Linked DNA regions of Homo sapiens: regions 1, 2, 3, 4, 6 and 7 are each linked to region 5. The links are contacts of gene promoters, found by promoter capture Hi-C in blood cells and fetal thymus (Javierre and others, 2016). All regions are on one chromosome and are shown on one strand. The core of a region is centred on a gene start or on the middle of the fragment in contact, and the rest is flanking DNA. Distances in the headings are between cores, read along the strand shown.

What was found. The method cuts DNA at HindIII sites, captures the fragments that hold promoters and counts their contacts. A CHiCAGO score of 5 or more calls a contact.
Region 1: a contact is called between a fragment that was not itself captured here and the fragment with the promoter of TMX3 in region 5, in 1 of 17 cell types (total B cells). The highest score is 9.2, in total B cells.
Region 2: a fragment that was not itself captured here is called in contact with the fragment with the promoter of TMX3 in region 5 in 12 of 17 cell types (total B cells, total CD4 T cells, naive CD4 T cells and 9 more); the score reaches 20.8 in total B cells.
Region 3: a fragment that was not itself captured here is called in contact with the fragment with the promoter of TMX3 in region 5 in 5 of 17 cell types (activated CD4 T cells, non-activated CD4 T cells, total CD4 T cells and 2 more); the score reaches 10.7 in activated CD4 T cells.
Region 4: a fragment that was not itself captured here is called in contact with the fragment with the promoter of TMX3 in region 5 in 1 of 17 cell types (naive CD8 T cells); the score reaches 6.9 in naive CD8 T cells.
Region 6: a contact is called between a fragment that was not itself captured here and the fragment with the promoter of TMX3 in region 5, in 1 of 17 cell types (total CD8 T cells). The highest score is 5.2, in total CD8 T cells.
Region 7: a fragment that was not itself captured here is called in contact with the fragment with the promoter of TMX3 in region 5 in 2 of 17 cell types (M0 macrophages and total CD4 T cells); the score reaches 5.8 in M0 macrophages.

What each region holds. Positions count from the first base shown.
Region 1 is chr18:67,473,714-67,477,694 of GRCh38, forward strand. No RefSeq gene overlaps it. Among named protein-coding and RNA genes, the nearest start is that of DSEL-AS1, 41 kb to the right of the region's middle. The HindIII fragment of the contact is 9,635 bases long and covers 1-3,981 here.
Region 2 is chr18:67,521,226-67,525,239 of GRCh38, forward strand. The region is part of intron 1 of DSEL-AS1 (DSEL antisense RNA 1); the gene reads left to right. Among named protein-coding and RNA genes, the nearest start is that of DSEL, 6.5 kb to the left of the region's middle. The HindIII fragment of the contact is 5,417 bases long and covers 1-4,014 here.
Region 3 is chr18:69,937,874-69,941,791 of GRCh38, forward strand. The region is part of intron 2 of CD226 (CD226 molecule); the gene reads right to left. Among named protein-coding and RNA genes, the nearest start is that of CD226, 8.0 kb to the right of the region's middle. RefSeq lists an enhancer at 1,949-2,288. The HindIII fragment of the contact is 6,842 bases long and covers 1-3,918 here.
Region 4 is chr18:67,493,499-67,497,211 of GRCh38, forward strand. No RefSeq gene overlaps it. Among named protein-coding and RNA genes, the nearest start is that of DSEL-AS1, 21 kb to the right of the region's middle. The HindIII fragment of the contact is 3,041 bases long and covers 886-3,713 here.
Region 5 is chr18:68,713,044-68,716,667 of GRCh38, forward strand. It overlaps TMX3 (thioredoxin related transmembrane protein 3), which reads right to left and starts at 2,065. Exons shown (of 16, transcript NM_019022.5): 1 at 1,893-2,065; 2 at 803-857. The coding sequence starts at 1,938. It also overlaps a transcript of CCDC102B not described here. RefSeq lists silencers at 1,713-1,812, 1,993-2,122 and an enhancer at 2,323-2,392. The HindIII fragment of the contact is 941 bases long and covers 1,605-2,545 here.
Region 6 is chr18:69,913,521-69,917,574 of GRCh38, forward strand. The region is part of intron 2 of CD226 (CD226 molecule); the gene reads right to left. Among named protein-coding and RNA genes, the nearest start is that of CD226, 32 kb to the right of the region's middle. The HindIII fragment of the contact is 3,552 bases long and covers 1-3,422 here.
Region 7 is chr18:70,116,405-70,120,053 of GRCh38, forward strand. All of the region lies in intron 26 of RTTN (rotatin), which reads right to left. Among named protein-coding and RNA genes, the nearest start is that of RTTN, 87 kb to the right of the region's middle. The HindIII fragment of the contact is 1,468 bases long and covers 1,126-2,593 here.

The DNA of each region.
Region 1 (3,981 bases), core at 1,389-3,888, 1.2 Mb before region 5:
GTCAATAACAACAAAAATCCATATACAATAAAAATATAAATTTTAAAATTAATTTTCGAGAGGGAAGAGTCTGTCTATCATGATTATGCTTATGGTTTCAATAGCAAATTGAATTTATGACATTAATAATTATCTTCTTTACTGATATATGGTGAAAAGTGGTAGTTCTGAGGTTACCTAATTTTGCTCCCTGTTTGGCAAGCAAAAGAAACCAGAATGTTGAGCTTCCTGGCACATTAGGGAGAGAAAGACAGCAGGCTGGGGCCAACGAAAGAGTCCTATATTTCATTTTAAATTATTACCTGTACCATTCTAAAATTCTCCCGAAGTACACTCAGAGACTTAGGAAAAGATTATATCCCATCACGATCTTTTATTAATGGTTCATTGGAGAATTGAGAGAAGATTTTGTCCAAGTTTGAAACAAATCATGCAGAGGGAAAATATCAGGATGCAGTGTACAAGAAAAATTAGCAATAGCGATAAAGTGAAGGCAGGAGAGAGGCCACATTGCAACCTGAAAAACAGATAAGAATCCCAGTGGAATCCTGTGAGAATCCTAGAAAATCAAAAGAAATTCTGAGATCTCAGGTGTTATAGGGTGTCAGAAGTCAAATTATGTGTTTGTATTTTAAAAATGAATAACCCCAAAATGCTGGATATCATAAGAATTTCAATACAGGAACATCTTCATGCATGCCCGAACATCTAGCTCTAAAGTTGGAATGTTTAAATCCCATGAATATATATTGTGAAGATAATTTTAGCATATTAAATACAGAGCCAGAATTAATCAGAATACTGGGCTGAAGCCCTGGATTTTTCTAAACCTGTGACATGGGACAAGTCTCTGGGTCTCCATTTGTTTTATTATGAATACTTACTATACTAGCTTACAATCTGCCAGCTGCTATTCTATGGGCTTTACATATTAAACTTAACTTTTACAACAACCCTATGGAAGGTTCTGTTATTATAATCCTTTTACATCTTGAAGGGAATGAGGCACAGAAATATTAAGTAACTGGCCAGAAGTCATGCAATGTTAGTACATTGTAGTGGCAGGATTTGAACTTAGGAAGTTTGGCTCCAACCAACTGGAAATAATTTCCTGCTTGTCTTTCTTTACCTCAGCAAACTTTTGCAGAGCTCCCAAGGAATGCATGGTGATATATTTTACAATGGTTAGCCCAGTTCCATCCCTGATCTCGAAGAGCACATAATTCTAAAGTAAATTCTAAAGTAAAAAGGCTTTCTAAACTCACCTTAAACATAGATAACATGTTTCTTTGGAAACATACTTAGCAATTTATAGATCTTAGTATAAAGAAAAATGATGTTATTAACACATTTATAAATATTCAGATAATTATTTTTACTCTTCCCTTAAGCATTTTGCATAATTTAAAACAAGATTTTATTTATTCCAAAATATGTAAGGCAGCTTGTATCAAAATAAATAGTTTGAAATTTAAATTTGGAGAAATGGTGGGTCAGATTATTTGGATAATTAGTTCCTACAATTCAATTTAATGGCATATGCTCCATCTATTTCCTAACATATTTAGAAATGTTTCCAACTCAATGCTATGGTTTCCATGAGGAGGGATTTTTATTTTGAGACAGCTAAACTACTATATAATATTACCAGGTCTTATAAGTGACTTTAATAAATTTCTTAGATGTTTATTAAAATGACTAGTCTGTTGGACAGCAGAGAGAGGAATGTTTCTAACTCACTGCTGTGGTTTCCATGAGGAGGGGTTTTTACTTGCTCTCCTCTTACCTCTTTCCACGGGGGCAAAGTTACCTGCTGATAAATATAGAGGGGAACTGCCAAATAGTCTAGACTCCAGTCCTGATGTTTCTTGGGAATCAGCCTTACCTGAGAGTAAGATTAAGTGTTCTAATCCATGCCTCCAGGTTAAGAGTACTGTAAGGACAGATTTCCATGTGCGGTTTCCAGCACCACTTGGGGCTGGGTGGGAAACTTTGCCAAAATCTACTCTTAAGTATTAGGGAGTTCATCTTTGTCACATTCTTCCAAACTGGGCTTTCTCACTAATAGAGCTTACATTTCAATCTCTGATCCTTTGTTCCCTCGACAGGATCATAATGTAAGCAGGGAAGGAGAAGTGCAATCCTGCCCTCCTCAAAACTGTGACACAATCTAAACTCTCCCACAGAGATGGGGCAATCAATGTGAGGACTTAGCAAAAGAATGCAGAAAGAAACACAGACCTAACAACACCTTTATTTTAGCCTAATGATACCCATTCAGACTTTTGATTTCCATAAATGTAAAATAATAAATTTCTGTTGTTATAAGCTACTAAGTTTATGGTAACTTGATAACCTTATACATACATGGATGATCACAATTTTTACAAAAGCATAGAAGGGAGAGCTCTGCTTTCATGCAGGTGAACATTGGCCTGAATTTAAGTTATTCATGAGTAGAAACTTCCTATCATTTTTAGGTATGATTTTATTGAGAGTTCTACAAATATAAGCCTCATTGTACATCATATATTGAAGGATTTAGATTCAAGTGGCAATAATGTCTGTATATATTTATGTATTTTTGAAACAGTGTCTCACTATGTTACCCAGGTTGGAATGCAGTGACAGGATCACAGCTCACTGCAGCCTTGACCTCCTGGGATCAAACAATCTTCCCATCTCAACCTCCTGAGTATTTGAGACCACAGGCATGCACCACCGCATTTGGCTCAGTTTCTTTCTTTCTTCTTTTTTTTTTTTTTTTTTTGTAGAGATAGGGTCTTGCTATCTTGCCCAAGCTGGTCTCAAACTCCTGGCCTCAATTAATCCTCCTGTCTTGGCCCCACAAAGTGCTGGGATTACAGGTGTGAGCCATCGCATCCAACCATTTATATTGGATAATTTGTGTAAATCATGTATCTTCTGGTCTTCAGTGGCACATAATGTTATGATTAAACTACAAGGACATAAAAGCAATTTGGGCACATCTTTTAAAACATGTTTAAATAAACATTATGGTTTAACAAACTTTGCCAAGAACTGTCACAAGAAGCAAGAAACGAACACTCTTTAATACCAGATGTGAAGTGATTTCTCCTAGCGTAAAGTCAAAATACATTAGTGACTCAGCCCTGTGACAGCTTGTACCCTGGAGATTATCTCTTCAAAGTGCAGAGACAGACTGAAAAAAATTAATGATATGTTTGTTTGAGAATCAACTTAAATGTCTGCATATGAAATACTGAAATAATGTTTCTTAGCAGAGTCATATTTTTTAATTTGTTAAGACAATATAGTAGGGAATACTAATTTTATTTTGAATCTTTCATTAGTATTTCCAACTTTCAGGGCACCACATACAGTTTTGACAGGAGAATAGGAGCAGAAATTCAGCCTGAGGTCCACTTACTAAACTGGGGCTGGCATGGGGATATACCTGCCCCATATGGAGGAAGGAGTGTCACCTTGTCAAGTCAGGCACTTTGCAGGACTTTATCCATCCAGAAAGGACATCTTTTCCTAGATTTCACAAAGGTTTTCTATGGACTGGTGACAGATCAGCATGTGATACAACAGACCACTATTCAAAATATAAAACCAAATATAATATCTTTGGCTAAAGTAGTATCTAAATATCATAAGTTTGCAATCATCCCTTTACATGGTTTGAAGTGGTGGTACTAATGGTGATCACATTTTGGATTTATCGATAAAGTAGAAATTTGCCTGAAATGTGTTGATAGGTATTATCTTGTTTTGCTTATATAAGTACACAGGCCAAGTTAATATGAGTAAATGTCTATCAATGTCCAAGATTTGTAACTTCTATCTTAGTATAATTATGCAATTAAAAAATGTTTCTCTATGTTCTGTACCTACTGAAAGCTATGATTTGCTACGATCCTTTCTCGGTAAGCTATGAAGGGGAAACTGAGTGAGTAGTAGTTATTTAGTACCAAGGACTTGAAGAATAAAAAA
Region 2 (4,014 bases), core at 900-3,399, 1.2 Mb before region 5:
GGAAGTCCTCTTCTCATGAATGACATTAGTGCCGTATAAAAGAGGTGCCTTAAAAAAAAGGTGCCCTAGTTTCCTTTTGGCCTTTTGGTCTCAGTCTATGTTGTGCTTATATAACAGAATACCTGACCCTGGGTAATTTATAATGAATGGAAATTTATTTCCTCACAGTTTTGGAGGCTAGGAAGTCCAAGGTCAAGGTGCTGGCAGATTAGGGCCCAGTTTCTCTACTGCAAAGATGGCACCTGAAAGCTGCAGCCTCCAGAGATGAAGGACATTATATCTTCACATGGCAGAAAAGGAGGAGAAAGAGAGAATCCACTCCCACCAGCCCTTTTTATAGAGCATTAATCCATTCTTCATGAACTAAACAGGTTTCTCATTTGGCCACACCTCCTAACACTGTTGCATTGGGGAATACGTTTCCAACACTTGGATTTGGGGGAACACGTTGAGACCATAGCACCTTCCATCTCTTCCTCCACATGAGGACACAGTGTTCATTTCTTTATTGCCTCTTCCATTATGTGAGGATTCAGCAAGAGATATCATCTTGGAAGCAGAGAGTAAGCCCTCCCCAGACACAGAATCTTCTGGCACCTTGATCCTGGAATTTCCTGCCTTGAGAACTCTGAGAAATAAATTTCTGCTATGTATAAATTACTTTATCTGTGGTATTTCATTATAGCAGCAAGGACAGACTAAGACACTAGCTTTCTCTAATTTATTCACAGATGACTTTTTGTTGTTTACCAGCTACTGGCTCCATTTTTCTTCATTTGACCTAAAATACTTCTAAACCTAGCTGTCTCAGCTCTTATAAAAACTTGAGCTATGCCTACAGGCATAATTGGCAGTAAACTAATTACTACCAAATAATATTTGGAATGATGTGTCTTTTTGGGTTATCAGAAATGCCCTTCTGATGTTAATAAGAGAATGTCATTTTACCCACAACCCCTGTACATATCATGCACCCCAATTACCTTTACTATCAGATTTATTTCCACTGGAACAGTGTTTTTCAAATTACAGTTCTTAGACTACCAGTATCAGAAAGTTCATGGTGCTATTAAAAATGTCAATTATCAAATCTGTCTCAGCCTTATGGATTAAGAATCTCAGTGTGTAACCTGGTATTCTGTACCTTAAAATGTTCAAGTGCCTAACAAATTTTGAGAGTCACTGTTCGAACATAATTCTCATTCTTTTCTCCTTGCCACACACACCTGTGCCTGAGGGTTTGTTTGGCTACATAACAGAAACATTCTCAGGCTGGCAGAAGCATAAGGACTGATTAGGATTAGGAACTGGTGTTGCAGAATAACTCAGAAACATGTATGTAGCTATTTTGCAGAACGTTTAATAGTCTTGCCTTTAAATTATTTATTCACATGTGAGGAAGTGAGATATTAGAGTCAAGCAATAAAGGCAAATAAGATTTATAAAACAGAAAAGAGAAAAAAATGAATACAACCTAGAAACAATGAAAGTTGTATTTTGGGGGGCAAGTTGATTAAATGGCAGTTAGCAGAGGAGTTTGTTGCCCAGAAGTGAGAGTTTAGCTGTAGAGCAGAAGTGACAGGTTCCTCTGTAGAGTGTTGGCCACTAACCCGCCATCAGCACCTGTATCTTACTCAGATCTAGCCAGTATCATATTTCCTCAGTAGGCTTCCTTGCTGGAAAGCCACTAAAAGTTTCCTTTTTCCATCCATGTGAGGCAGGGAGACTTCTCCCTCTGCTCCTGAGCATTTACTTCCTTCTCTTTTTCTGAGAATCAATTTCACCTTCTCCTTCATGGTGATACAACTCAACATGGCTATCCTTCAGCACAAGTTTATATCACTTTGACTCCACCATCGGGCAGAAATCAATTGTCTTTTTTGAACCTCAAATCCAAATTCTCGGAAAAGATGATTTCCTAGCAGAGTCAGCGTTTCATCATGACTCCAGCAGCAATGGAAAGCAGTTCAGGGTCATATAGTTCAAATACTGCTACAGGGGCTGACATTCGTGGGTTCGAGATATCAATCATCTTAGGAAGAGAGAGCTGGCTTATACCTTAAAAGTATCTATTATAAAATGACACAAACCAGAGAGCCATGCACCCCCAGGGAAGCACATAAAAGCAGTGTATTTGGTGGTGAGTAGTTGAGGTGTGGGAGGTTGAGGTATGGTGGGATAGTGAAAGGTTGGGGGGGAGGAAAGGTTCAAAAATGCCCACGCTTTATGTGAACAGGCTGACTCCTCTTTCTTATCCCCTGAAAATTATTCCTTTTGTAGAATGTATTAAATTTACCTAATTAGAAGAATCACCTAGAATTACTTGTTAAAAGTACGAGATATGAGATCCAAAACCCTACTTGAAGGTAGAGTGAGGAAGGAAATATAAGAAGCCTGTATTTTTAAATTCCATTATGATCCTGCAAAATTAACAAATCACCATTAGATAACCTTTTAAAATACTGCCAGCTACCAACATCGCCCTAAACCTGCTGCCCCCACCAATAACTGAGCCCCTGATAACCACCACAGTCTAGTTTTATGAGATCAATTTGTAAAAAATCCACATGTGAGTGAGTTCATGCAGTAGTTGTCTTTCTGTGCCTGGCTTATTTCACTTAACATAATGTCCTCCAAGTTCATAGATATTGTTGCAAATGGCTAAATAATATTCCACTGTGTATATGTACCACATTTTCTTTATCCACTCATCTATTGATGGACACTTAGGTTGATTCCATAGCTTGGCTATTATGAATAGAGCTGTAATTAACATAGCAGTGCAGAGATATATATCAGTGTCTCTTTGACATACTGATATCATCACAAAAATAATAACTATAAGTGATGCATAGGTTAATTAGATTTAGTCAAACTGTAATCTACATATACTTCAAAACATGATATTTTACATGATACTTACAATTTTACCTGTCAATTTATTTTATTTTATTTTTCTAATTTTTTTTTTTTTGAGACAAAGTCTCACACTGTTGCCCAGGCTGGAGAGCAATGGCACGATCTCAGCTCACTGCAACCTCTGCCTCCCAGGTTCAAGTGATTCTCTGCCTCAGCCTCCCCAGTGGCCACCACACTTGGCTAATTTTTGTATTTTTAATAGAGACAGGGTTTTGCCATGTTGGCCAGGCTGGTATCAAACTCCCGATCTCAGGTAATCTGCCTGCCTCAGCCTCCCAAAGTTCTGAGATTACAGGCGTGAACCACTGTGCCTGGCCTTACCTGTCAATTAAAATAATAATAATAATAATGAAAATAATAATAATAATAATTGGCTAGCTACTTAAAATAGAACATAATTTTGTTTCAGATTCAAAGACGTAAAGTTTGATAGAGATGGGAGGTAGGTAATTTATGTGGGTGAAGCCAGCCAGGTGCTTGTTGTCATGTGGAACGTAAGGACCCATGTCACGAGATAATCTGATTTTGCAAAGAAAGCCAGAAATCTGAACTTGTATGGGAAATTATCTGATTTTTCTAATGGCTTAACTTGTTTTGAAAACTCTGTGAATGCCAAATAAAATGGATTCAAATCATAAACGGCAAGGTTTTGACTTCTGATTGTGAGCTGGCTGCATGAAAATAAATTTCCTGATTTTGCATATGCTAGTTCAGCACCCCAGGAATTCAACTTTCCATTTTAATGCTGGGAAAAAAAATACTATCTTTTCTTTTAAGTTATCTACTACTATAACTCCTCTCAGTCTGGAACGGTCAAGGACTGGTCATGTATTCAAGCAATCTTATTTATTCCTGCAGTTATGTATTAAGTTTTATTTCCTTAATTCAATAAATATTCACTGAGTGCTCAATAACGCACTGTGGAAGACGCTGAAAAACCCCAAGGGGAAAAAATATTCTTCGCCAAATGGAGCTTATAATCTGTGGATAGAAAAGGCACAAAAGGCATGAATTATTACTTCATTTTTTCTGTATTTTAATCATTACTTCATCATATTTAAATGGCTTTGAAGGTTCATCTATATACTGATTCCA
Region 3 (3,918 bases), core at 66-2,565, 1.2 Mb after region 5:
TCTGGAGCCCTTAATATTAAAGGAATCTCTTTAGTGCCACTAACCAGCAGATATATACAAGAATGAAAGAAAACTTTGGCTGCTATGTCAGCTGCTGGGAACCTGGACAGAGAACACTTGTCCCTGAAGGGTGTAGAGATAAGAGCCTTCTAAGAATGAGCATGGATGGCATATAAGGAGCCTCATCCCACCTGGGAGAGAATGAGACTCTTAAAGGGAAACAGTGAGGAACATCTCTGTGCCCAGTTTGAGATAAATGGACTGGAATATGGGAGATCACAGAGTCAGCAAACATACAATACAGCCAACACAAAGTACCTGCATGTGTGGAGCAAGAAAATCTAACCCTCTACTATAAATATGAGTTCTATGTGTCTTCTGCTCTCACATCAATAATTCACCTGTTCACTTTCCTCTCCCTCCCAACTCTCCCCCTCTTTTCTCTATGCCCTCTACATTCTTTAACATGAACACCTTCTTTAACACACTACAATGTGACCATCCTCCAAGCCACAAGCTATGACCTTAGACTTCTGCCCCCATCCATTGGTACTTTCTTAGTTAACCCCATCCATCCACATGTGCTGGATGATCATTCAGATGACTTCAAATTGGATATTTTCAATCCTGGTTTGTTGTTCCATAATTTCAATTGTCAGCTGGTCAAAGGCTACTTTACAATTTAATACACCTGAAACAGACTTAATTCCACTCTTGCTAGCCAAGTTGGTCTCTTAATTTCACATCTTTTTCACTAAAATCATCATTTTTTAGTCCTTGGATCATAAAAATTTGAAACCATTGCTGAAACTTACCTCTACCTGGCCCCCAGGCCATATCAGAATGAAGATTTCATCCTTACCTTAGAGCTTTCAACTGCTCAAAAATTGCAATCACATCTCTTTTCACCATTAGAAATCAGTAGATTTGGCCAGGCAAGGTGGCCTATGCCTGTAATTCCAGCACTTTGGGAGGCCAAGGTGGGGTGGATCACCTGAGGTCAGGAGTTTGAGATCAGCCTGGCCAACATGGCAAAACCCCCATCTCTACAAAAATACAAAAATTAGCTGGGTGTGATGATGCAGGCCTGTAATCCCAGCTACTCAGGAGGCTGAGGCAGGAGAACCACTTGAACCCAGGAGGCAGAGGTTGCAATGAGCTGAGATCATGCCACTGCACTCCAGCCTGGGCAACAGAGTGAGACTCTGTCTCAAAAAAGGAAAAGAAAAAGAAATCAGTAGATTTGAAAGAAATCTTCTAAAACATTTTGAGACAAATGCAAAATAAAACACCTGTATAAGGAAAACACCCTGACTATGAGCCTTAAAGACCCTTTCAGCCCTTCCTGATTCTATTCTATCCCCCACCTACCATGTTTCTGAACTTTGCTTTTCTTTATAGTTTTACCACGTTTGTATCTATAAATAACGTATTGTTTAATTATGCATATTTCTAAAACCTTTAAAGAAAAGGAACCCTAGTTTACCTATTTTTTTTGGTAACTTGCTCTTTTCTTTCAACACAAAGTTCATGAGCTTCATCCATGTCGGTGAGCAAGTGATAATTCACTCATTTTAGTGATGTAGAGTATCCTAATGTGTGAATAGACCTCAGTGTGCTTTTCGGTTCTACTGTTGATGGGTATTTGGGTTGTTACCAATTTTTTGCTATTGCAATCACTGTTGCTATAAATATTGTCAGGAATTTTCCCTATAATGAGAGAACTCTTGGATACCAAACAGAGTAGAATTATTGGATCATAGGATTTGGGGTTTTTAACTAGCTAATGCCATATCATTTTCCAAAACAGGTATGATGGTTAATTTTACGTGTCAATTTGAAGGGTGTTTTGGGATGAGATTAACATTTAAATTGGTGAATTTTGAATAAGCAGTTTGCCTCCATAATGTAGGTGAGCCTAATTCAACAAAAAGACCAGCCTCCCCAAGCAAGAGGGATTCTGCAGCAGATGACCTGGGCTTCACCTGTACCATCGGCTCTCCTGGGTCTGCAGCCTGCAAGCCCACACTGCAAATTTGGGCTTATCAGTCTCCATGATCATATGATATAATTTGGCCGTGTGCCCACCCAAATCTCATCTTGAGTTGTAGTTCCCATAACCCTCACGTGTCGTGGGAGAGACCAGGTGGAGATAACTGAATCATGGGGGTGGTTTCCCCCATCCTGTTCTCATGATAGTGAGTTAGTTCTCATGAGATCTGATGGTTTTATAAGGGGCTTCCCCTGCTCTGGGCACTCACTCTTCTTCTCCCTGCTACCATGTGAAGGACATATTTGCTTCCCCTTCCACCATGATTGTAAGTTTCCTGAGGCCTCCCCACCCATACTGAACTGAGAATCAATTAAACCTCTTTCCTTTATAAATTACCCTGTCTCAGGTATGTCTTTATTAGCAGCATGAAAACTGAGTAATACAGTAAATGAGTACAGCAGAGAGTGGAGGGTTGCTGTAAAGATATCCACAAGTGTGAAAGCAACTTTGGAACTGGGTAACAGGTAGAGGTTGGAACAGTTTTGAGGGCTCAGAAGAAGACAGGAAAATGTGGGAAATTTGGGAACTTCCTAGAAATTTGTTGAATGACATTGACCAAAATGCTGACAGTGATATAAACAATGAAGTCCAGGCTGAGGTGGTCTCAGATGGAGATGAGGAACTTTTTGGGAAATGGAGTAAAGGTCACTCTTGCTATGCAAAGAGTTTGGTGGCATTTTGCCCCTGCCCCAGAGATCTGTGGAACTTTGAACTTGAGAGAGATAATTTAGGGTATCTGGCAGAAGAAACTTCTAAGGGGCAAAGCATTCAAGAGGAAGCAGAGCATAAAAAATTTGGAAAATTTGCAGCCTGATGATGCGACAGAAAAGAAAAACATTTTCTGGGAAGAAATTCCAGCCAGCTGCAGAAATTTGCATAAGTAATGAGGAGCCAAATGTAAATCACCAAGACAATGGGGAAAATGTCTCCAAGGCATGTCAGAGACCTTCATGGCAGCCCCTTCCATCATAAGCCTAGGAGGGAAAAGTGATTTCCTGGGCCAAGCCTAAGACCCCCTGCTCTATGCAGCCTCGGGACTGCATATGGTGCCCTATGTCCCAGCCACGGCTAAAAGGGGCCAACATACAGCTCAGGCTGTTGCTTCAGAGGGTGCAAGCCCCAAGCCTTGACAGCTTACACGTGGTGTTGGGCCTGCGGGTGCACAGAAGTCAAGAACTGTGGTTTGAGAACCTCTGCCTAGACTTCAGAAAATGTACAGAAACACCTGGGTGTCCATTCAGAAGTTGCTGCAAGGGCAGAGCCCTCATGGAAGACCTCTGCTAGGGCACTGCAGCAGGGAAATGTGGGGTTGGAGCCCCCACACAGAATCCCCACTGGGGCACTGTCTAGTAGAGCTGTGAGAAGAGGGCCACCATCCTTCAGACCCCACAATCTGAATCTGATCCACAGACGGCTTGCACCATGCAACTGGAGAAGCCACAGACACTCAACACCAGCCTGTGAAAGCAGCCAAGAGGGGAGGCTGTACCCTGCATAGCCAGAGGGGTGGAGCTGCCCAAGACCATGGGTGCCCACCTCTTGCATCAGCATGCCCAGGATGTGGGACATGGAGTCAAAGGAGATCATTTTTGGAACTTGAAGTTTTAATGACTGCCCTACAGGATTTCAGACTTGCATGGAGCTAGTAGCCCCTTTGTTTTGGCCAATTTCTCTCATTTAGAATTGGTGTATTTATCCAATGCCTGTACCCCTCTTTTATCTAGGAAGTAACTAACTTGCTTTTGATTTTACAGGCTCATAGGCGGAAGGTACTTGCCTTGTCTCAGATGAGACTTTGGGCTGTGGACTTTCAGTTAATGCTGGAAAGAGTTAAGACTTTGGGGGACTGTTGGGAGGGTATGGTT
Region 4 (3,713 bases), core at 1,156-3,655, 1.2 Mb before region 5:
TATTATTGGATCTACATTTACCTTATTATTGAAAAGTAAATTATACTTTTAATCTCAATTCAGATCACTTTATCTATTAATGTAACTTTCTAAACCTAAAAGTGAAAGAACATTAAGAAAAATGCTAGTAGATATTTCTCAGAGAGGGCTTTTGTGGTGCCCCTCATATTTCTCTGTATTTTTAAAGACATTCTTCAAAACATACCTATTTTTTAATACAAAAAAAGGACTTTTCTAATTTTTCTCCTTCCACAATACTGTACTATAATGAGAGCAAAGAATATCACTTTAAAAAGTGCTGAAAATGAGCGAAAGGGTAAGATTAAAACAAAACTTTTTGCAAATGGTTGAAAAAGAACAATTCTTGTTAAAGTGGGACAGAGAGAGCACAAGTGCACAGAAACAGACCTGTGGGAGCTGTTGCAGGAGCTGTTGTTCAAGCAGAGATCTCTGAAAAAACCAGAGCTACATATGGAAAGGAAAGAACTTCACAAACAGTTGATCCTCATTATGTGCAGATTTGCATTTGTAAGTTTGACTTCTTGCTAAAAGGTATGTTCCCTCAAAAATCAATAATCACTGTCAATGGTCATTTGCAGATATATGCAGAGTGGCAAAAAATTTAAGTTACCTGGAGAGAGAGCACATTCCCAACTGAGGTTGAACAAGGTAGTGCTTTGCCTGTTTGTTTCCACTTTCATGCTATAAACAAGTGCATTCTTAAGGGCTTATTTAATGCCACGTTTTTCACACTTTTTTGTGTGATTTTTGTTGGTGAGTTTGCTGTTTAAATTGGCCCCAAAGTGTAGTGTTGCAGGGCTAATAGTGTTCCTAGACTAAAGAAGGCTATGATATGCCTTACAAAGAAAATACAAGTGTTAGATAAGCTTCATTCAGGTATGAGTTACAGTGCTGTTGGCTGTGAGTTCAATGTCAAAAACCAATCAACAATATTTATTATATAAGGTGTCCTTAAACAGAAACACTCATGAACCAAGGTTATTGACTGATAAAAATTTAGTGACCAAAGGCTTCCACCACCCTAACCCTTTATTTCCCCAGGAGCAATAGGGTATTGTTCACTAATTCAGTGTTTGCAACAATGTTATATGACATAATTACTGCAGAAAACAAGAAACAACTGTAACTGATTGTACTATTATATGCCTAATGCAGTGGATTTCCCTCCACTACATAGTGGAATCCCCTGGAGGGTGAGCATTTTAAAAATGCAGATGCTGGTTACCCATTTTACCCTCCCCCCAGGCCACGGAAATCTGAATCTGTGGAGGTCTCTGCTTTGATGTTTTTAAAATCTCAAGTAATTCCAGAAATTCTTCTTTTCTACAAATTATACCTCAAGAAAGTGGAAGTTGTTGATTAACAGGCTCTTTTCAGAAGAGAACATCATCTGGGATGTTGCTCTTCTCTCCTTCCTTCCAGCTTCCTGGAATGCAGCAATGATGATTTCAGCTCTACTAGCCTTCTTTGCTCATGAGGCAATTTTGAAAATGACAAAAACTAGTTTATTTAGTTTATCTTACCAGCTAGTACCTCAATTCCAACAATCTTGGATGCCACGATTTAAAATCCCTTTTACAGTGTTTCCTAAGCCTCATATTCTCATAGCCACTTTACCCTCTATAATCAGTCCCTTGCATGCAACCTTATCTCTTATTTTTTTTTTCTTCTGTCATCTCACTCACTCCTGGGGAAAACACAATCTGGCTAATCTAGCTTTCCATTTTTTTCTACACTTGCATGTGTGCAGCTGAACAGAGCTGGGGTAAAGCAGGTTTCTTACAGAACGTGAACAGCCATTACTTTCAAGAAGGCCATTAGAGCTGTCTAGCAATGGTACAAAATTTCCCCTCTCCATACCCTTTACTCTTTCACTCTTCTAGATGACTATTTTTATACCTCCTTTTCTCTTATCCAGCCTCCAAGACTTCTTTCCCCATCTTTTTTCTCATCTATTGATTCTGCTTTCTATTTCATTGAGAAAACAGAAGTAGTAAAAAGAGTTAAGTAGAATAATATATTCAAAATGCTGTAAACCTAGGACTGTATGTACAGCCAACTTACGTTGCAAGAATGAATGTCATAAAAAGACATTTTAGGCAAACAAAAATTGAGAAAATATTAAAGATGCACTTAAGGCAGAAAAAAATGAGCACAGAATAAAGGCTTGAGCAGTTTGATGGTACAGAAAGAAAAACATAAACATATGAATAAATATACAAATAGTGGTTGTATAAAAGAGTAATAATCACTTTTCATTTTTCTCTAATAAGCCCTGAAATAATAGAAATAGGATGCATTGCTTCTAGTAAAAGGAAGGGAGGCATTAATCATCTCAAAATAATTCAAAACAGAAGTTGAAAAGGAATATATTAATAGTTAAAAGAGGTATAGACAGAAAGTACATGCTAATTATAAATAAATCCATGAATATCAATAATCACATGGATATAAACACTCCAGATAAAAGACAATGATTCTTAGAATATCAGTAAAATCCAGCTATCTTCTATTTACAGTATGTATATTAAAAACATCAGGCCACAAAATGTTTGGTAATATCAAAATGAAAAATTACATCTCAAACTAATACTAAACAAAGTTCCAACATACTGAAGATAAAAAGTAATAACAAGAGATAAATAGTGCTGTATAAATTTAAGAATAACTCAACCATGAGTTTCACTGGAAGTCAGAAAACATTTAGAAGGGTTAATGAATAAACTACATATCAAAATGTGTGGAATATAAGCAATAGGGTTTAAAAAATAAATTAATAGCCTTAAATTAGTATAGTAAAAAATAATAATAATTTAAAAATGGGAATGAAAAAAAAATTACCTCCTGACATTGAGGAGCTGGCCTGTCACCATCAGCCAGGCCCAATATCCTCTTGTTGAACATGAACATTTCACAGAACAAAGCCACTCTGTCACCTCAGTGATCAAGACAAAAACGACACTACTCCATAATCATGTTTGAATACAGAAAAAGTATAAACATTTTCTAAACCACAAAATAGTGCACATTCATGTCTCCCGGTTAATATAAGCAATGGCTACTTTTTCATCAATTACAGCTTTAGCCTCTCTGCATTCATGTCTCCTTCTAGATAAGATTTATTCAGATACCCAATCATAGAACTACTCCCACTTCCTAAGAGCAGCTAATCCAGAGAAAAGCCACACTTCTTAAATCTCTCTCACTAAAAGAAGCAATAAATCCAGCTTACTCCTGGTGGGTTTTGGCAGGAGTCCGGCAAAAAAAAATGGATCATATATCTCATTAAAGAAGATACAAAACACACCATCGAAAGCAAATTAGAAAAAAATAAAATAGAATGAAGGAAATAGGTAAAATCAGAAGCCAAAGTTAATGCAACAGCAAATGTACATAAAATAGAAGTTAGAAACAAAGTAAAACTAAAAATTAATCTTCAAAAAGACACATTATAAAAGGGAAACTCCAATTAAGTAATAAAAGGAAATAAAGCACACATGCTCAATATTAAGGATAGAAAAAATATGTAGGGGATGAATAGAGAGGCAACAGAATCTGCATTTTGAGTAAACTTGGGTCAATAAATGTGAAAAAGAAAAGGACACAGACTGGGCAATAGAGTAAGACTCCATCTCTACAAAAATAATTAAAAAAAAAAAAAAAAAAAACTAGCCAGGTGCGGTGGTGTGCAG
Region 5 (3,624 bases), core at 815-3,314:
TTCCATCTCTCCCCATGAAACAGCACCAGGTGAGTCAGGTGGATGAGACACAGATGGGAGAATTCATCTCATTTCCTACAGCACTGAACAAAAGTCTTCTGTCTCTTTATGGGGGGTGAGAGAGAAAAGGACTAGAGTAGAAAAGTGCCTCCGCTGACACCCTCAATAAAGATGTTTTAGCAGAAGTGCTCAGGAAATGCCTCAGGTGAGGTCCCAATAAGGAGGCTGCTAAACAGAGACCACTGGGTTGGGAGTGTAGACATGCAAATGAGCGTGGCTGGCCTGGGAGGCCGAATCCTTGACTACCACTCCCTCCAGGGACTGTAATGCACCGGTTATACACCAAGTTTGGTGTAGGGAGGGCACCTTCCCCTATGCCAGAAAAAGCCTTGCAATTGTCTATGGTCAAGCCTGAAAGATCACACACAGGAATTTGGGTCTGAAGTGAACCTCCTCACTTACTATAAGCAAGGCTGATTAATGCTGTCATACTATGAAGATAAATACAGTACAGTTACCAAATTCTAACACCCATTCAATATAATTAAAGGAAAAAGACATAAATACAAGGTAAGATAATGAGGAAAAAAAGAATATGTAAAAGTTTGCCACAGTTTTTTGATCTCATAACTATTAATAAAACTCTTCTGGGCACACCCTCACCTTCACTTACAACAAGTGAAAAAAATGAGTGATATATAAAAATTGGTTCCAATCTAAAATATTAGAATCACATGCAAATATTCAGATATCTGAGTTGGACAGTTAAAATAATATTTTAAATATATATATGTATACTCACGATTCATCTAAATCTTCTACAAATCCTTTACAGACGACCATATCAAGTACAACAACTGAAAAAAAAAGACAAAATGTACACAATAAATGCTGATTATTTGGCTCATACCGTATAAGCTTAGTCATCTCTGAAGTGTTTTTGACCTTTCACAACCTACCAAAAAATTCATCACTGATGCATCCCAGGGTGCAAATGATGCAAAAGCAAAGGTAGTTCATCCATTTAATAAATATTTAGTCTGTATGCAACCATATCGTGACCGGCCAAGTTCTAGGTAAGCCAATAAATCTAATACACACAGTTCCTTTTTCCTCCATATTTTCACTCTCATCTTACGTCTCTTTTTAACCATCCTATCTTTTTGGAATACAAATAGACAGCATTCTTCTTTATTTCTTTTGCTTTAGTAGCAATTACCTCTTCCGTAAAAACTCCAAATGCCATTCAAAATATTTCCCCTCAAATAGATACGTAGGAAGAAAGTCGAGCTGCAACTCTAATACTTATTACACGGCAGTGCCTGACACAGAGTGGGCTCTAAAAGGTTGTTAAGTGAGCGGACCCCAGTGAGAATGAGGGCACTCCATGCTGACGGGAGGCAGCTGAGAACCGCTGACACACACTCAGGTCCTTTTCACACCGCACAATCCCGGCGGCCTGACCCTGATCTGTCCTCGACCACCCTCTCTTGAGTACTGGTGGTAAAAATCCTTAAACGTGACAAGACTCGGAACCTAAAGCCAAGGCAAGATTTGGTCGTTAAGCTGGGACGGCGGCATCCTTCTTGCCCATCAAAGGAGTAAGCTTTATTGAAACTTCTGCCACAATGAGAAAAACACAAACACAAGGCAGCGCGCCCTTCCCACGTCCAGCATTGGTCCGGCACAGCGGCGGCGGAAGGACCCCAAGGTGTCCGCTCCGTCAGGGCCAGGCAGGGTGGCGCGGCGGGGGCGGCAGGACGCTGCCGGGAATGGGTGGGCATCTCCACGAACCCCGCAGGCCTCGCCCCAGACCCGGGTCCAATCCCGGCCCCACGGCGGGGCCAGGTCCCACGCGCCCGCCAGCGTCCCGACCGCTGAGCCCCCATTACCTGTGGCGCAGAGCCGCAGGGCCGTCCAACTCTTCCACGCTGCCATGCTAGCCCGGGAGAGCTGCAGAAGCTGACTGTGCAAAAGAGGGATAAAGACACTGGGGTCCGCCGCCTGCCCGCCCGGAAAGGGAAACGGAGCCGACCCGGAGCGGAAGAGAAGCACCGCGCTAACTACGGGGGCGGGGCTACCCGGCCAGTCTCCGTCTCCGGCTATGCGCGGGAGTGCGGCGCATGCGAGGGGAGTGCGGCGCATGCGACAGCGCCTGCGCAGTCATGTCTTAAGAATCCTTTGCGCTCTCGGTGCCCCCCTCCACGCCCAGGAGCGTGGGAACCCTGCTTAAGGGCTTTACTAGGGAAAACGGTGCTGGTTCACTGGGGCGCGTTTCCGGGAAGGTGAATACCGGTGAAAGTTATGCTGAGGGTGAGGTAGGCTCTGACGACGCACTTGCAGGTTGAATACTGGCACATCATTTACTTGTTACTCCCGTGTGGTGAGTGCACCTGTGGGTTTTGATGCTGGATCAAATTCCTGGAAAGAGGCGCGCATTAAGACTGCGGATTGCTGAGCTGCGCGACACTCCGTATTTTTCCAAAACGTATTTGTAATATTCTTTCAACCTGTTTGCATAATGGGACATCTCTTAAATGCAGCAAGCTTTAATGCATTTTTGCCAAAGTAAGGATTGCCTCTTTAAAAACTTTCTCTTGAAACTTGAGAACATGAAGTTAAGCGTAGGATATTTTTTGATGGCTCTTTTCTGATTATTTTGGAACTAGATAAAGTAGTATGAAATATTTATATTGCTACCTGTTTTTTCTTCTATACGACAATGATTTGTAAAAACCATATACTTTTATAAGACGGTTACTGCAGCAATCACTACTTACGAACTAGATGAAATTTTTATGGGACATAAGGTACCAGAGAATTTAGATCAAACCAAATTTTGAAAACCTGTGACAACAACAGAAGGGGGATATGATGTCAGCCGGTTCACCTTAGGTTCAAAATTCCAACAGGCAAAAATGTCATAAAACGTCGTTATTCCTAGTGACTAGAAGATTAAATTGCACTCTAATTGAGAGCAAGCCCTAAATGTCACCCCCTTTGTGCATGCAGCATGGTATCCAGCGCAAGCCCTCTACAGATTCAATTTTTCTTTTTCTTTCTCTTTTCCTTTTTTTCTTTTTTTTTTAAGAAAAAAGTAGACTAAAACGTAAGGGGACTGTTGAAATGATGGGAATGTTCTCCCGGTGGTGGTGGAACAGCTTTATAATAGTACCATCGCCTCGATACTCTTATACAGAAGCTTTTCTACTTTCTTGGCAAGGTCTCTGAATGACCCATATTCAATTTTTTTTTTTCATTCTCATGTATTTCAAAGTTTTCTGTCTTCCACAGCATGCAAAGTGAAATAATTTCCTCTTATATTTGCGTTACAGTTTAAGTTCACATGTGGACAACAACAAAAGCCAGTTGACCTAGATCTGTGCTTTTCAGTAGTGTAGCCACTAACCACATGTGGCTATTGAGCTTTTGAAATGTGCCTAGTGTGATGAAATAACTGAATATTTATTTTTTTTAATTTCAGTAAACTCAAAAACTGACACTCGATTCAGCTATTGGAAAGTTTTTTTAATGTGGTTGGAACAACTGAGGTATGTGAATCTACTTTTTCAACTGTAAATTTTATGAAATCTAAATACTGATCAAGTCCCAGGCATGGGTGGC
Region 6 (4,054 bases), core at 397-2,896, 1.2 Mb after region 5:
TAATCTATGTTTATGCATTACATGTGAACATTATTTAAAAAAAATAGATCATCTTAGAGCAAACTCAGTAAACGTATGCCATACTCTTAGAGTAACAACCTTTGTAAATTACTGTTTAAATTACAAGCGTGGGGTAAGTTGGTGCTTAGAGTAGTTGGGAAGGAGGCAGGAGAAGTCTCTGCAGGATGGACCTCACGAGCAGGCAGGAGTTCAGTGTGGGCAGAGAACTCTTTTTGCAGGGCTCAAGTGTCCTAGTGAAATGCTAAGCCTGCATATTATGGAGCAAGGGACCAGCCCTCTGAAAGATGGGCTTCAGATGTGCTAAAAGAATTGGAGAATTATAGACAACCTCACCGGAAAGGGAGAAAAAGGAAGAAGATGTTTCTTACTAAAGTGTGAAGGGGAAAAAATGGCATCCCACGACTTCTCTATCATTCTATTGATCTTAATGAGGTTTCTGGAAACAAAATGAGTTGGGGGAAATGCACTACTTCTATTAGAGAGATTTCCAAAATTTGGAAAGCTGTCTCACTGTGATCATATTTTCATAGCATGATTTTGGAACAATAATCTAAAATGTCCAGTATTTATACTACCATCTATGAATTTGGCTTGTATGTATTATGTCAGAATGTGAAAAATCTCTGGCTCTGAAATTCTACCTTTCTATATAATATTTCAGATCACACCTGCAAAACTACTCTACGACCTTGACATTTTTGATGAGTTTGATGAGATCTTCGACTGCTTCAAGTCAATCACCTCATATCAGTGCCATTGGCAATTTGAGGAAGACAAAGAGGAGCTTGGTTCAAGTTGATTAGCACTACCAGAAAAGAAACTCACAGTGAACACCATATATCAATTATTCCATTGAGTTCATGGACCAAGAGGAGAATATTTATTTTCAAGTTTTGTGGTTAGCAATTCCTTGTGATAGTTCTGCCAGTTTCCAATTTTCTCACTGAAGGGCTACAGAGTTCCGTATTTGTGCCAAGTCCTATATATTGCTCCTTTACAAAAGCATTTCTACTGAAGTAAATTGGAAAAAGAAGAAAAGGCAAGATAGACTAGACTTTTGGCCCTCCTTCTAATTGAGAATGACAACCACAACCATTTCAGTTGCATTCAGCTGTCATTCTGTTACTCCCAATAAAACAGAAATGTTCATGCTCTAAAGTAACTAACACAAATAACCATCAATTGAGGACCTACTATATTTAAGACAATGTCCCAAATTCTGAGCCAAATCTCAAGGAAATTGCAAAGGAAAGTCAAAGGAATTAAAATCAATAATGCAATAGGTCCTGACTCGCCTGAAAGTAAATTGGCACAAGAAAACATCCAAAAAAATATTTTTTTACTATCTTAGCATACTCTGATTTTCTAGAAATTCTACTCTTGTTCAGTTTAAAGTGAGGGAAGATTTTACTTTGAAGTATTAGAGCTTTACCAGAGTTGTTCATTTTGGAAACAGTATCGTTAATGATTGACAATGCCATTCAGGGTAATCACATCTTCTAGTCATAGTTCACGGTGATTCTAAATGGAGGTGAACACATTTCACCATTTCATTTTATCCCTCTCACACAATAGCACCTGGACACGATTTCAAAATGGTTAAGGAGACTTATAAAGTATTTATTACAGAAGAGAACATTGGATCTGATAGGGTTGACAATCATTGCTATTTGCTTTATTAGTAGCAGAATGAGTAAAAATATGCAGAAATGCATATACACTTTAGCAAATGATCAAAGAGTCCATATGATGTATTTTTAATCTAATAAATGAATTCAATGTTAATATAACTAACCAAAGGTCCTCAGCTACTTTTTATCATGCCATGGTTCTCCATTTGCCAGAATTCATCTAACAGCCCCATTAAAATTGTAAACACTGGAAGCAAAGATGAAATGGAGAAAACAAACAATTCTTTTCCAGATTACAGTTAGTTCTCAAATATACCTTTGGAAGCTAGGTCAGAAAGAACTTAGATAAATATGCTTCCTATGAATTGGTATATGTCCTATTGCTACGCGCCATTTTTTAAATGCGGAAACTAATTGAAATAGTTGCTTTGAAATATTTAAGCTCAGTGTTTGCCATTCTCCTTGGCTCTTTTATCTCACTACACACTCTTTTTCTAAGTTAGGGATGACTTCCATTTCCCCTGCATAGTACGCACTTCCCCGAAGTCTGCAATTTAATTTCCACCTCCATAATTTTAAATATTTTAAAGTTATCATTTTACACTCTCAATTTTCCTCTACAATTGCCTTCATAATGGCTTCCTAACTCTACTGTCTTGGAATTACATTTTTCACATTTATAGGTTTGTCTTTTAAAAGCAAAACAAAACAAAAAAGCCATAAAATTTGGGGATCAGAATCAAATCACAGGATGTGCCAGAGCCAGTGGTAATGATTACAGATATACCCTAATGTGAGGTTTATTGCAGTTGTGCTATTTCATTTCAGAGGTATATTACTGTAGAATAACAGTTAAGAGAACAAAGCATATTTTTTGCCTGTCAATAGATTCAATTGCATTTTACAGCAAAAATAATTTACTCGCAGGTTTAAATTAGACATCTAAGTGATGCAAATAAATAAATCACTGATGATTTCAGCAACCAGAGATAACCACACAGATACTGATTTGTGATTTATTTGTAATATACCACAAACAAAACTAAAAACTTCAATGTATATTTCAGGAAAAGATTAATTTGGTGTGTGGTTACTTATAAAATCATGTAAGAGTAACAAGACAAAACCAATTTTAAATAATAGAATTTAAGAATGCTCTAGTCCTAAAGAATAATTTAGTATGACATTGACCATCTAACCATCCCTCTATTTCCTCTCCCAAAATATAGTTCGGATGCTGAAAGTGAAATACACCTTAAAAAATAAAAGGTAAAATATAGGCTGTCAGACTAATCTGTACTGAATAAAATACCCTCCGGAAAGCCATGACTCAAAACATTTATCATCTCAACAAGAAACAATGATGTGTTTGATTCATAAAGTAATACAAAAAGTATATTTGTTTTCCTGATGTTTAGACAAGCATCAAACCACACAATATTTTTTAATGAGTCATTGGACTAGAAATCTGAGCTTTATCTTTCATACTAAATACACGGTTCATCCACTAGGGTATCAACCTACTAGGGGCATGAACTGTCCTTTTTATACATTTTGTACATAAGGGAACAGACGAGATTCTTATACTCAATATGAGCACCCAATGGGCACTCATTATATGCTCATCAAGTTTGCTTTAAGGGATGTTGAGAGAGCAGTATAACTTTCTGCATACGAATTCTGAACCTTTGTGACATGGTATCCTTCTGACAATCTCTATCTTGGTTAATACCATCTCCCCACATGACCTGCTATCAAGATTTGAAGCCAAGCTTCACTCCTTCCTTTGTGCATCCCTCCCATTTCACTCACACCCAAATCCTGTCACTTCCTCCTCCTTAATAGCCTTACATCTGCCTACTTCTCTGCTTTCCCACTTGAACAGGTTCTTATCATCACCTCTCCCCAGGTGGTAATGACAAGGGCCTTGTCATAATTCTCTATATACATTACATAGTACAGCCAGAGTAATCTTTGTAAAACAGATCTGGCCCTATTAGTCCCTAGCTTAAAATTCTATGTATCCCCAAAGCCTCCAGGATAAAATTCAAACTTCTCAGCACATATTCTAAGGCCTAATAGAAGTAGTCATGGTTTCTCCAAGTGTCAGCTCTGGTCCACCACTCACCTTGCCCCTGGGCTCATTCTCAGATCCTCCAACTCACCACATACACTCCATCTCACGTCTGAACTCTGGACCAGGACACTCCCTCCCCCAGCACCATCTTTCCTTCCCTCCTTCTGCTGCTTTCTGCCTCTTCCATTGAGCTTTCCTGGGTTGCTCCTCCTCCTCAAGCTAGGTTACACACCCCCCCAACACATGCACTTTATGCTCATATTTTAGCCTATATGCACCTCTTCATTTACAGTGCTGCTCCTAAGATATGCCTCTTGTGCAGCTG
Region 7 (3,649 bases), core at 610-3,109, 1.4 Mb after region 5:
TGAAGATTACTGAAGTTTTTTTTTCTCTTTTCACCTTTGATTTACATGTTAACACTGAAATTCAGTGAACCTCAGCAATACCACTTGTAAAATATAGGGTGAATTACCATTTCTCAAGTACAATAGAGTAGAATAAGATGTCTCTACTGATGCCTACAGATGTCAAGTGCTTAATCATATCTGAAGTTTTTGTCTTTAGACGTTAGGATTCAATCCTAATTTTAAACCAACTACTTGGGCCATTATTTTGTCACTGTTGACCTCTAAAAGGCAACCATTTCTATAATGATGGCTCATTTTGTTTACACACACAGTTACCACTCATCATATCCAACTTTACATCCATCAGCAAGCTATGCCAAAAGTAACTGCAAGACCCTCAATAATGTCTGAGTGCACATTGAGCCCGTTACGGGAAAGCCAGCCAAGGAAAATATATATGCTGTGTAGTTCTGCTGAGCTTCACCAAAAGAAGAAAAAAACTAACAGCCCCACATTTGTGAACTTCCATCAAAAAAATGCATTCCAAAAAGAAAGGTATTCAAATTCAGCACTTCTAGGTTACTATAAACAAAATATCATATTAAAAACAGATTAGAGGTGCAATAAACTCCTAAATTGCCTAAGAATTACAATATGTTTGTAATAAGTGAATGTCTTGATAAAACACATGGAAAAAAATTTCACAAGAGAAAGTTCCTAAATCTTCCCTCGGGAAGTTAGCTGATTTTTCTTTTCACTTCCTCTTAGCATTCTTCTGACTAATCAGGCGTTCATATCTGCCTAATTTTGTTTTTGCAACCACAACTTTTGTATATCTTTTCATGTATGTCCATACATTCAAAGCAATTTACTTGGAAATGTTATTTTACTGAGCTTCTTAAATCATTTCTCACTTATTTTACTCACTTCAAAGGATAAACTTTAAAAGGTACTTGATTTTCTATTTCCAGGTTCCCTTTATCCTAAACATTGGTAGTTATATAACATATATTAATTTATCTTGTAGCATAATATTTAGGGAGTAAACCCAACTGATAGTGAACACTTAAGTTCACTTTTGTGCACTCTTAAAAGTAGTATTATTTATAACACTTGTGGTGATAATATATGAGATAAAGTAGAAGCTTTCCGAAGAAAGGTTTAATACCATACAAAACCAAATAAGTAAATGTAACTGTACCAAAAATCCTTTTCAAAAACTGCATTAAAATTATAGTACAATCATCTAGAGTCTTGTAGGAATTTAATTTTAATTTCATAACTATGAATAAATTATAAAATATACATAAACCTTATGACATACTACAAAATTAACAGTACATGTATGGTGTTACAAGTCTTAACAAATATAACAAGACTGAAATCATATCTAATATCATTTCTGACCATAGTGATAAAAAACTAGAAGTCACCAAAAGAAGGAATTCTGGAGTATTCACATATACATAAAAATTAAGCAACATGCTCCTGAACAATCAGTGGGTCAAAGAAAAAGCTAAAAGGGAAATTTTAAAATATCATGAGACAAACAAAAATGGACACCAAACCAACCAAAACTTATGGGATACAGCAAAAGCAGGTCTAAGAAGGACATACATAACAATAAACATCTATGTCAAAAAGAAAGATATCAAGTAAACAACCTCAAGGAACTAGAAAAAGAAGCATAAATGAAGCCAAAACTTAGTAAAAAGAAAACAATGAAGATAAGGGCAGATACAAATGAAATAGAAACTGGAAAAACAATAGAAAACAGTAACAGAATCAAGAATTGAGATTTTGAAAAGATGAACAAAATTGACAAACCTTTAGCTAGACTAATAAAAAAAGAAGACAAAATGAGAAACGAAAAGGGAAGACATTACAACAGATACCACAGAAACACAAGGAATCGTAAGAGACTATTATGAACAATTTCATGTCAACAAATTGGACAACCAAGTGGAAAAAATTCTAGACACATAGAGCTACCAAGATGGAATCATGAAGAAACAGAAAATCTGAACAGACCAATAATAAGGAGATTAAATCAGTAATGCAAAGTCTTTCACCAAAAAAAAGCCCAAGACCTGATTGATGGCTTCACTGCTGAATTCCACCAAACATTTAAAGAATTAATACTAATCTCTGTACTCCTAAAACCAAATGAAGAAGGAATACTTCCAAACTCACTTTATGACGGCAGCATTACACTGATACCAAAGCCAGACGTGGGAACTACAAGAAAAGAAAATTACAGGCTAATATCCCTGATAAACACAGATATAAAAAATCCTTTACCAAATACTGGCAAACTGAAACCAAGAGCACAATAAAAAGATCACTCACTATAATCAAGTGGAATTCATTCCAGGGATGCAAGGATGGTTCAACATACACAAATGCGTAAATGTGATACACCAAATTAACAGAATTAAGAACAAAAACCACATGATTATACCAACAGATGCAGAAAAAGCATTTGACAAAATTCAACATCCTTTCATAATAAAAACTCTCAATAAATTAAGTAGAAAAGGAATCCCAACACAATAAAGGCCATATATGAAAAACCCACAGCTAACATCATTCTCAATGGTGAAAAGTTTAAAGCTTTTTCTCTAAGATCAGGAACAAGACAAGGATGTCTACTCTCACCATGTCTATTCAATATGGTACTGGAAATCCTAGCCAGAGCAATTAGTATATAGAAAGAAATAAAAGGCATCCACATTAGAAAAAAGGCAAGTTAAGCTGTCCCTCTATGCTGATGATATAATCTTAAATCTAGAAAAACCTAGACTCCACCAAAAAACTTTGATCTTAAAAATGAATTCAATAAAGTTGCAGGATACAAAATCAACTTATAAAAAATCAGTAGCATTTCTATACAGTAACCGCGCCCCCCCAAAAAAAAACCTCATTTAAAATAGCTACCAAAAAAAATTAAGATATTTAGGAATAAATTTAATCAAAAGGTGAAAGATCTCTACACTAATGTCCAAGTTGCAGGTACCAGAATGAAATCACGCTCCAAGGAAAGGGGAGGGGAGGGAAGAGGAAAATGGAAGGAAAAAGCAAAGGAGAAAGGGAAGGGAGAAGGGAAGGGAGGAAAAGAAAGGACAGGAAAGAAGAAATGAAAGGAGACTAACAACCCAATTGTGGCGGAGAACCAGCAAGGACATCAAGATACAATTCATGAAAAGACCGAATATGAAAAAATCTCCATCTAATTCAAAATAAGTTATCTATTTATAAAACCACAAAAACCTCAGCACACACGCACCTCTACAATTTGACTCAGCAATTACAATTCTAGAAATTCAGTCTATAAATATACTTGCATATATAAGTAACCTTGAAAGTAATACATGGTTTCCATTTTTGTTAAATCTTAACTAGTGATAAAATTAAGGTTTTGTGTGCTTCTTGTAATTAACTACATAGCTTATTACTGAGTTAATAAATGTTTATTGAGAGCTCACTATGTGCAAGGCACTATAATAAATGCTGGGTATGCAATAATGAACAAAACAGTCCCTACCTTCACCAATCTACAATAAAGGAAAAGATAATTACTATGGTTTGAACATTCCCTCCAAAATTCATGTTGAAATTTAATCCCCAAAGTAACAGTATTGAGAGGTGGGGCCTTTGGAGGTGACTG